Regions from separate parts of the Homo sapiens genome. Here all the other regions are linked to region 3. Evidence: promoter capture Hi-C in human tissues and cell types (Jung and others, 2019). All regions are on one chromosome and are shown on one strand. Each heading gives the region's core, a stretch centred on a gene start or on the middle of the fragment in contact. The rest is flanking DNA. Distances are from core to core; before and after follow the strand shown.

Region 1 (2,700 bases), core at 92-2,591, 650 kb before region 3:
ACATATTTCCTCAGTCTTTGTGTTTCTGATATATTTAAAGAGTGTACAGGCCAATTATTTTGTAGAAAATCTCAAAGTCTGAGTTTTTCTGGGATTTCCCCAGGATTAGATTCAGGTTGTGCATTTTTGGCAGGTATACCCCTGATATTATATCTTCTCATTTCACCATACGATATATATGATATTACTTTCTCTCAGAACTGGTAATGTTAGCTTTGGTCACTTGATTAAGGTGATGTTTGCTGGGTTTTACTACTGTAAAGTTATTATTTCCCCTTTTGTAATAAGTAATTTGTGGCAGGCTACTTTGAGATTATGTAGTAACCTCTTTCTTTACCAAACTTAACCATACCAGTTTTATATCCATTTATGATTTTCCCACTCCCTCATTCTTTATTTATTAATCAGCATTCTACTGTAAGGAAGAGCTTTCCCTTCACCCTCATTTATTTATTCATTTATTTACATCAGTGTGAATTCATGGATTATTTTATTCAGTGAGCTATAATCCATTACTATTAAATTATCCCTGATTTGTCCAGTGGGAACCCTTGCAACCTGGGTGCTTTGTTCTTTTGATATTTTCCCCATTATTCTTTGGGAATTTCCTTTCTTTGGGGCAACAAAATATTCCAGGTTCAACTTATACCTTCTTGGCTCCTGCGCAGTAATGAGCTATTTCTCCAGAGAGCTTTGATTACTTTTTTGTAAGCCTTTGAAATTTAGTCTGAAGGTGATGAGTAACCACTGACACGCTGGGTGTGGCGTGATCCAAATCAACATTTTAAAAAAAGATCACTCTGTTAATAGTGTATAGAAAATATTGAGTTATGAAACTGGCCATAGAAAGAACAATTATGAGTATTTTCCAGTAATTTAGACAAATCATAATGCGGGTCTAAAAACACTATCAGTGAAGGGGGAACAAATAACTTTACACTGGAAAAACCTGGTGTGTACTCCTTCAGCCAGATGATCAAGGTCAACATCAATAGTGATGTTCTGTTGATAGTTTGTACCCTTAGTATGAGGCAATGAAAACGGCATTTATGTCTGTGGTCTTCCTCCTGAAAACCCAATAACCCCAGTATAATCATGAGAAAAACATGAGACAAATCCCATTTGAAGGACGGAATGGTCCCTTTTGAAGATCACATAATGATAACTACAAAATACCTGACCAGTACTCCTCAAAACTGTCAAGGTTCTCATCAAAACTGTCATGGGCTTTAGGTAACAGCAATGTGTTAATATTGGTTCATTAATTATAACAATGTACCATACTACTGTAACATGTTAATAATAGGGTAAACTGGGATGGGATACATGGAATCTCTGTACTATCTTCACAATCTTTTTGTAAACCAAATATTTTTTTTTAAATTAAGTTTATTGAAAAACACTATCAGTGGAGTTAAATAAGTAGGGTTTATTTTTAGGTGTATAAATGAGTGATATTTTTACATAATGCATAATGATAACTACTTCAGAGTAGTCATTTGTGAAGGCTATAAACTTATTTCAGTAGTGCAGCTGTTGAAAATGTTTTGCAGCTCTTTGGAGTCTTTAATAAATTCTGTCGGCTATCTTATAGTCTTTTAAGACAGTGGTCCCCAGCCTTTTTGACACTAGGGACCGCTTTCGTGGAAGACCATTTCTCCACTTATGGGGGCTGGGGGTATGGCTTCAGGTTGAAACTGTTCCACCTCATGTCAGATCATCAGTCATGAGATTCTCATAAGGAGCCCGCAGCCTAGATCCCCAGCATGCACAATTCACAATAGGGTTTGCACTCCTTTGAGAATCTAATGCTGCCACTGATCTGACAGGAGGTGGAGCTCAGGCAGTGATGTTCACTTGCCTGCCGTTCACCTCCTGCTGTATGACCCAGTTCCTAACAGGCCACAGACTGGTATTGGTCCACTGCCCAGGGGTTGGGGACTGCTGTTTTAAGATACACTTTAGTGAGAGACAGAGTAATGTAGCAGTCAAATCTGTGACTATACAGAAGTTTCTCAAGCTTTCTAAACCCCAGAGTGGGTATAACAACTTATATTAAAAAGTTGTTGTGAGCTAAATGAGATAAGTAATAGATTTCTGTCCTTTGAGGGAGAATTTTATTTTTGAAAGCAGCTGTAAGTTATTTGGAGCCTGGTCTGGTTTATATTTGGAGTAACCTTGGTATTGATATTTTTTGTCAAGAGCAAGATAAAAAAAATTTGGTGGTACTAATTTTTGTGTGGCCTATACATTTTTATAAAGGTAAATTTAGACTTACCATAGAGTTGCATATCGTGCTTACTCTCCTCCAATCAGTGACAGACCACAGAGATGATATGCCCTTTTCAGGACATCTTTTTTCTTTTAAAAAAATGGTTTATCACTTTCTGGGCGTTGCAGGGAAGGGTCCCAGGCTGGAGTGCAGTGGCTAGATCATGGCTCACTGCAACCTTGACTTTCCTGGCTCAAGCAATCCTCCCACCTCAGCCTCTGAGTACCTGCAACTACAGGCATGCACCCACCGCACCTGGCTAATTTTTGTATTTTTTGTAGAGACTGGGTTTCACCATGTTGCCCAGGCTGGTCTTGAACCCCTGGCCTCAAGCACTTGGCCCCCCTTGGCCCCCCAAAGTGCTGGGATTAGAGGCATGATCCACCGTGGTCAGTGTCATGTTTTAAATTATTTTTACTTTTTAATAA
Region 2 (2,700 bases), core at 39-2,538, 510 kb before region 3:
TGATTTTATCTGTATAACAGCTTTACTGAGACATTATTTACATATGATACAATGCACCCACGTAAAGTTTACAATTCAGTGGTTTTTAATATAGTCACAGTTATGCAGCTATCATCACAGTCAATTCTAGAACATTATCTCTCCAAAAAGAAATCCTATGCTCATTTAGCTTGTCACTCCCTATTTCTCTCCAAGCCTTATTCCCCCAACCCTAGGCAACCCACTAATCTACTTTCTGTCTCTACACATTTCCCAATTCTGGACATTTAATATAAATGGAATCATAGAACCTGTGGTTTTCTGTGACTGGCTTTTTCACTTAGTATAATGTTTTCAAGGCTCATTCATGTCGTAGCATGTGTCAGTGCTTTTATTTATTTTTGTCACCTAATAATGTTCTACTGTATGGATAAACAGGCATACCTGGCTTTATTATGCTTTGCTTTATTGCGCCTCAATAAATGGTTGTTATATCCTACTGTGTTTTTACAAAGTGAAGGTTTGTCGCAATCCTGCATTGAGCAAGTCTTTCAATGCCGTTTTTCCAACAGCGTGTGCTCACTTCATGTCTCTGTGTCATATTTTGGTAATTTTCACAATTTTTTAAACTTTTTCACTATTATACCTTCTGGTGATCTGTGATCATTGATCTTCGATGTTGCTATTGTAATTGTTTTTGGGTGCCACAAATTGCACTCATATAGTCAAAAGCCAGAAATGATTAAGCTGTGAGGCAGGCATGTTGAAAGCTGAGATAGCCTGAAAGCTAGGTCTGTTGCACCAAACAGTTAGCCAAGTTGTGATTGCAAAGGAAGAGTTCTTGAAGGAAATTAAAGTTACTACTCCACTGAAAACACAAATGATAAGAAAGCAAAGCAGCCTCATTGCTGATATGGAGAAAGTTTGAGTGATCTGGATAGAAGATCAAGCCAGCCACAACATTCTCTTAAGCCAAAGCCTAATCCAGTGCAAGGCCATAACTCTCTTCAATTCTTTGAAGGCTGAGAGAAGTGAGGAAGCTGCAGAAGGAAAGTGGGAGGCTAACAGAGGTTGGTTCATGAGGTTTAAGGAAAGAAGCCATTTCCGTCACATAAAAGTACAAGGTGAAGTAGCAAGTGCTGATGTAGAAACTGCAGCAAGTTATCCAGAAGATCTAGCTAAGATCGTTGATGAAGGAGGCCACCCCAAACAACAGATTTTGAATGTAGATGCAACAGTCTTATACCGGAGGAAGATGCCCTCTATGGCTTTCCTAGCGACAGAGAAGTCAATATCTGGCTTCAAAGCTTCAAATGGCTCTCTCGTTAGGGCCTAATGCAGCTGTTGACTTTAAGTTGAAGCCAAGTGCACATTTACCATTCTGAAAACCCTAGGGTTCTTAAGAATTATGCTAAATCTACTTTGCCTGTGCTCTGTAAATGAAAAAACAAAGCCTGGATGACTGCACATCTCATTACAGCATGGTAAAATAAATATTTTAAGCCCACTGTTGAAACCTACTGCTCAGAAAAAATGATTTCCTTCCAAAATATTACTGCTCAGAAACAATGCAACTAGTCACCCAAGAGCTCTGATGCAGATGTACATGGTGATTAATGTTGTTTTCATGCTGCTAACGAAACATTCATTCTGCAGCCCGTGGATCAAGGAGTAATTTCAACTTTCAAGTCTTATTATTTAAGACATCATTTCATAAGGCTCCATTACATAAAAGTACAAGGTGAAGCAGCAAGTGCTGATGTAGAAGCAGCAGGTTATCCAGAAGACATATAGTGCCATATATAGTGATTCCTCTAATGGATTTGGGCAAAGTAAATTGAAATCCTCCGCAAAGGGTTCACCATTCTAGATGTCGTTAAGAACATTTGTGATTCATGGGAGGAGGTCAAAATATCAACATTAACAGGAGTTTGGAAGAAGTTGATTCCAACCGTTTGAGGGATTGAAGACTTCAGTGGAGGAAGTCACTGCAGATGTAGTGGAAAGAGCAAGAAAACTAGAATTAGTAATGTAGTAGAGCCTGAAGATGTGCCTGAATTGCTGCAATCTCATGATCAAACTTGAATGGACGAGGAGTTGCTTCTTAGGGATGAGCAAAAAAAAAAAGTGGTTTCTTGAGCTAGAATCTTCTCCTGGTAAAGATACTGTGAACATTGTTGAGATGGCAACAAAGGATTTAGAATATTCCGTAAACTTAGTTGATAAAGCAGTGGCAGGGTTTGAGAGCATTTACTCCAATTTTGAAAGAAGTTCTACTGTGAGTAAAATGCTATCAAACAGCATCTAATGCTACAGAGAAATACTTCATGCAAGGCCGAGTGAGGAAGTGCAGCAAACTTTATTGTTGTCTTACTTTAAGAAATTGCCACAACCACCCCAACCTTCAGTAACTGGCCAGCCTGCTGCCACCAGCATCAAGGCAAGACCCTCCACCAGCAAAAAGATCCATTACTTGCTGACCACTCAGGTGATCATTAGCATTTTTTAGGAGTAAACCATTTTTAATTAAGGTATATACATTGTTTTTAAACATATACTGTTGCACACTTAACAGACTACAGTATAATGTAAAGATAACTTTTATATGCACTGGGAAACAAAATTCATGTGACTCGCTTTATTCTGATATTTGTATTTATCCATTCATCAGTTGATAGATATTTGCTTTATTCCCACTTTTTGGCTATCATAAATAATATT
Region 3 (2,700 bases), core at 169-2,668:
CCCCTCAGGTTGAACAGAGATAACAAATCTGACTTTACCCTCAGCTGCACGATGGCTTCCTAGAGGTTCAATAACTTTTTTTATTGGTGGTGAGTCTTGGAGGATTAAATGTTATGGGCACTGCAATGGATTTAATTAACAGATACTTTATTGCACTGACTATGCATCAGGCATTGTTCTAAGTTTTTCGTGTTTGTTTTTATAAATATTAACCTATTTAATTCTCATGTCGACCCCAGGCAAGAAAGAAGTTCTCTTGCCCTTCTGAACTTCAGCTGCGGGGCAATTTAGCTCCTAACAGGAAATAAGGACTTGGTGACATAAACATCCCCTCTTATGAGGCTGGGTTTGAAAGGCCTGTGAGTCAGACTGCAGGGTGTATCACGGGAACTATTTCCCTTCACCACCTGGAGCCTCAGGAAACAGAATATTTGTGGGCTGTGAGGAAGCTTGAACAATTAGCGTCTGCAGGCATGGCTGGATTTACCTTTTATTCCATTCCTTTCTTTGGTCCCTGACTTCATAAGTATGCATTCCTCCCCACAACACACACAATTTACTTATTGTTTCATGCAACCTAAGTCGTCTGTGATCATAATAAACTCATGACTCCCAAAGACTGACTGTTTACTCTTATTATCTCTAAAATTGGGCAAGAACAGCCTCCTGAGACATTAGGATGCCACGAGGAACAATTCTCTACAGCTGATCTGAGCTCTAAAGGGCAAAAGGGTGACAGGAGACAGCTTCCCCTTGCAGTAGGAAAAAGAGCAGGTTTATTCTGGGTTGTTGTGGCGCCGGGGGGCAGTAATATAAGAGGCCCCTGATTAGAGAAGTTCCACATTCAGAAACCAATCAAGGTGCCTGCAAAGACCGAGTGCTGTTTATCTGTATCTCTCTCTCTCTCTCTCTCTCTCACACACACACACACACACACACACACACGACACACAGGGACCCAACCCCTCCTCCCCTCCTGCCAGGACACTAGGGGACGCTGAGCCAGCGTCTCGGAAGGAGAAGCCCGGAGCCCCCCACCCTCGCGGCGGTCACGCTCCCTCCCGCTCCCGCCAGGCCCGCGCGGCCCTTCACCTTGATCCGCACGTAGCAGTGGGTGCCCAAGGAGGGGTCGCTCAGGCACGCGGGAGGGTGCTCCCGGGCGGGCCGCCGGAAGGTCTGCGCCGGCCCCTTGCCGAGGCTCCACAAAAGTTTGAGCAGGTGGATGGAGGCGCAGAGCCCGCAGTAGCAGTAGACCAGGGACCAGAAGAGCAGGGACCGGAGCGTGAGCATCAGGCGGGGCAGGCAATCCCGCAGCCTCGCCATTGGGAGGCGGCGGCGGGGCCCACTGCCCTTCCTCGGGAGCGGGTGAGCGAGCGCCGCAGCGCGCCAGGCCAGCCCGCCGTCGCCTCTCGACGCGCGCCTCCCCCGGCCCGGGGCGGCCGGCGTTCCGTGTCACCGCGGCGGCTCCGCACACGCGCCGCGCCCAGCCCGGAGCGCGCAGGGGAGAGCCGGGCCTGCGGGGTGCGGCGGGCCAGGCCGGGGTGCAGAGCTTGGCTGTCTTCCGCGGAGAGCGAGATCCCGTTTCAAAATCGCAAAACTGTGGGGGAGGATGAAGGCGAGACTTTCCCAAACCATCCTGGGCACCAAAGAAGGTAGCGCCACTCAGTCTTCTTTGTTGTTCTCAATGTATCAAGCAAAACTATTTCTAAGCCCACATATTCGTGTGTCATAGTTCAGGGACACAGGTCAGCGACAAACTTCCATGCTATTACACCCAAAGAGATTCTTTAGAGTGCAAAATCACTCTGCACTCTGAAAGATACCAGCCTTCCTCTTCTCAAAATCTTTCGTGGAATCATAATTTCTGTAGAAATCCGCCTATGCCTTGCCTGGTTCAGCCACAGCAAACTTACAGAGAGCTGCAACCCCAGGGATACAACGAATGCTTCAACAACGTGACGCGGCAGAAGCCTGGCCAGAAGGCCACACACCTGAGAGTTCGTCGAAGGGCTGGAAGCCGTGAGAGTGACAGTCCTCGGTAGGTATCTCAGCCTCAGCACCGACATGGCCACTCTTGTCCTGACCTCTTCTATCGTCCAGTTCACTGTTAGAATTTCATTAAGCCTTTTCCCAATCACCGGGTCAGGTATTAAGTGTTCATTTTTTATGAGAAACTGTCAAACTGGTTTCCAAAGTGGCTGTACAATTTTGAATTTACTTCAGCATGTGTGAGTTATACAATTGACCTTTGAACAATGCGGGGGGTTAGGGTTGCTGAACCCTTTCACATCTGAAAATCCATGTATAACTTTTGAGTTCCCCCAAACTTAAGTACTAATAGCCTACTACTGACCAAAACAATTAACATATGTTTATGTATTACATACTGTATCTTTATAATTAAGAAAAATGTTAAAATCATAAGGAAGAGAAAATACATTTACTATTCATTAAGTGGAAGTGGATTATCTTAAGAGTGTTCATCCTTGTCATCATCAGGTTAGGTAAGCTGAGGAGGAGAAAGAAGAAGGGAGGTTGATCTTCCTGTCTTGGGGTGAGGGGGAGGGAAGAGGTGGAAGAAAATCCATGTGTAAGTGGACCTACACAGTTCAAACACATGTTGTTTGAGGGTTAACTGTATTTTGCTCTTTTTTTCTAGGGTCTTGAGTTAGGAACTTATTGAGACCTTTGCAATTTCTA

What was found. The method cuts DNA at HindIII sites, captures the fragments that hold promoters and counts their contacts. A contact is called where the count stands out against the background at its distance.
Region 1: a contact is called between a fragment that was not itself captured here and the fragment with the promoter of EPHX4 in region 3, in 1 of the 25 tissues and cell types used here (dorsolateral prefrontal cortex).
Region 2: a fragment that was not itself captured here is called in contact with the fragment with the promoter of EPHX4 in region 3 in 1 of the 25 tissues and cell types used here (thymus).

The regions. Positions count from the first base shown.
Region 1 is chr1:92,678,217-92,680,916 of GRCh38, reverse strand. The region is part of intron 9 of EVI5 (ecotropic viral integration site 5); the gene reads left to right. Among named protein-coding and RNA genes, the nearest start is that of EVI5, 110 kb to the left of the region's middle. The HindIII fragment of the contact is 3,514 bases long and covers 1-2,700 here.
Region 2 is chr1:92,541,675-92,544,374 of GRCh38, reverse strand. The region is part of intron 19 of EVI5 (ecotropic viral integration site 5); the gene reads left to right. Among named protein-coding and RNA genes, the nearest start is that of GFI1, 56 kb to the right of the region's middle. The HindIII fragment of the contact is 4,277 bases long and covers 1-2,700 here.
Region 3 is chr1:92,028,703-92,031,402 of GRCh38, reverse strand. It overlaps EPHX4 (epoxide hydrolase 4), which reads right to left and starts at 1,418. Exons shown (of 7, transcript NM_173567.5): 1 at 1,093-1,418. The coding sequence starts at 1,323. It overlaps LOC124904218 (a long non-coding RNA gene), which reads left to right and starts at 1,016. Exons shown (of 2, transcript XR_007066222.1): 1 at 1,016-2,038. RefSeq lists an enhancer at 1,218-1,719. The HindIII fragment of the contact is 17,230 bases long and covers 1-2,700 here.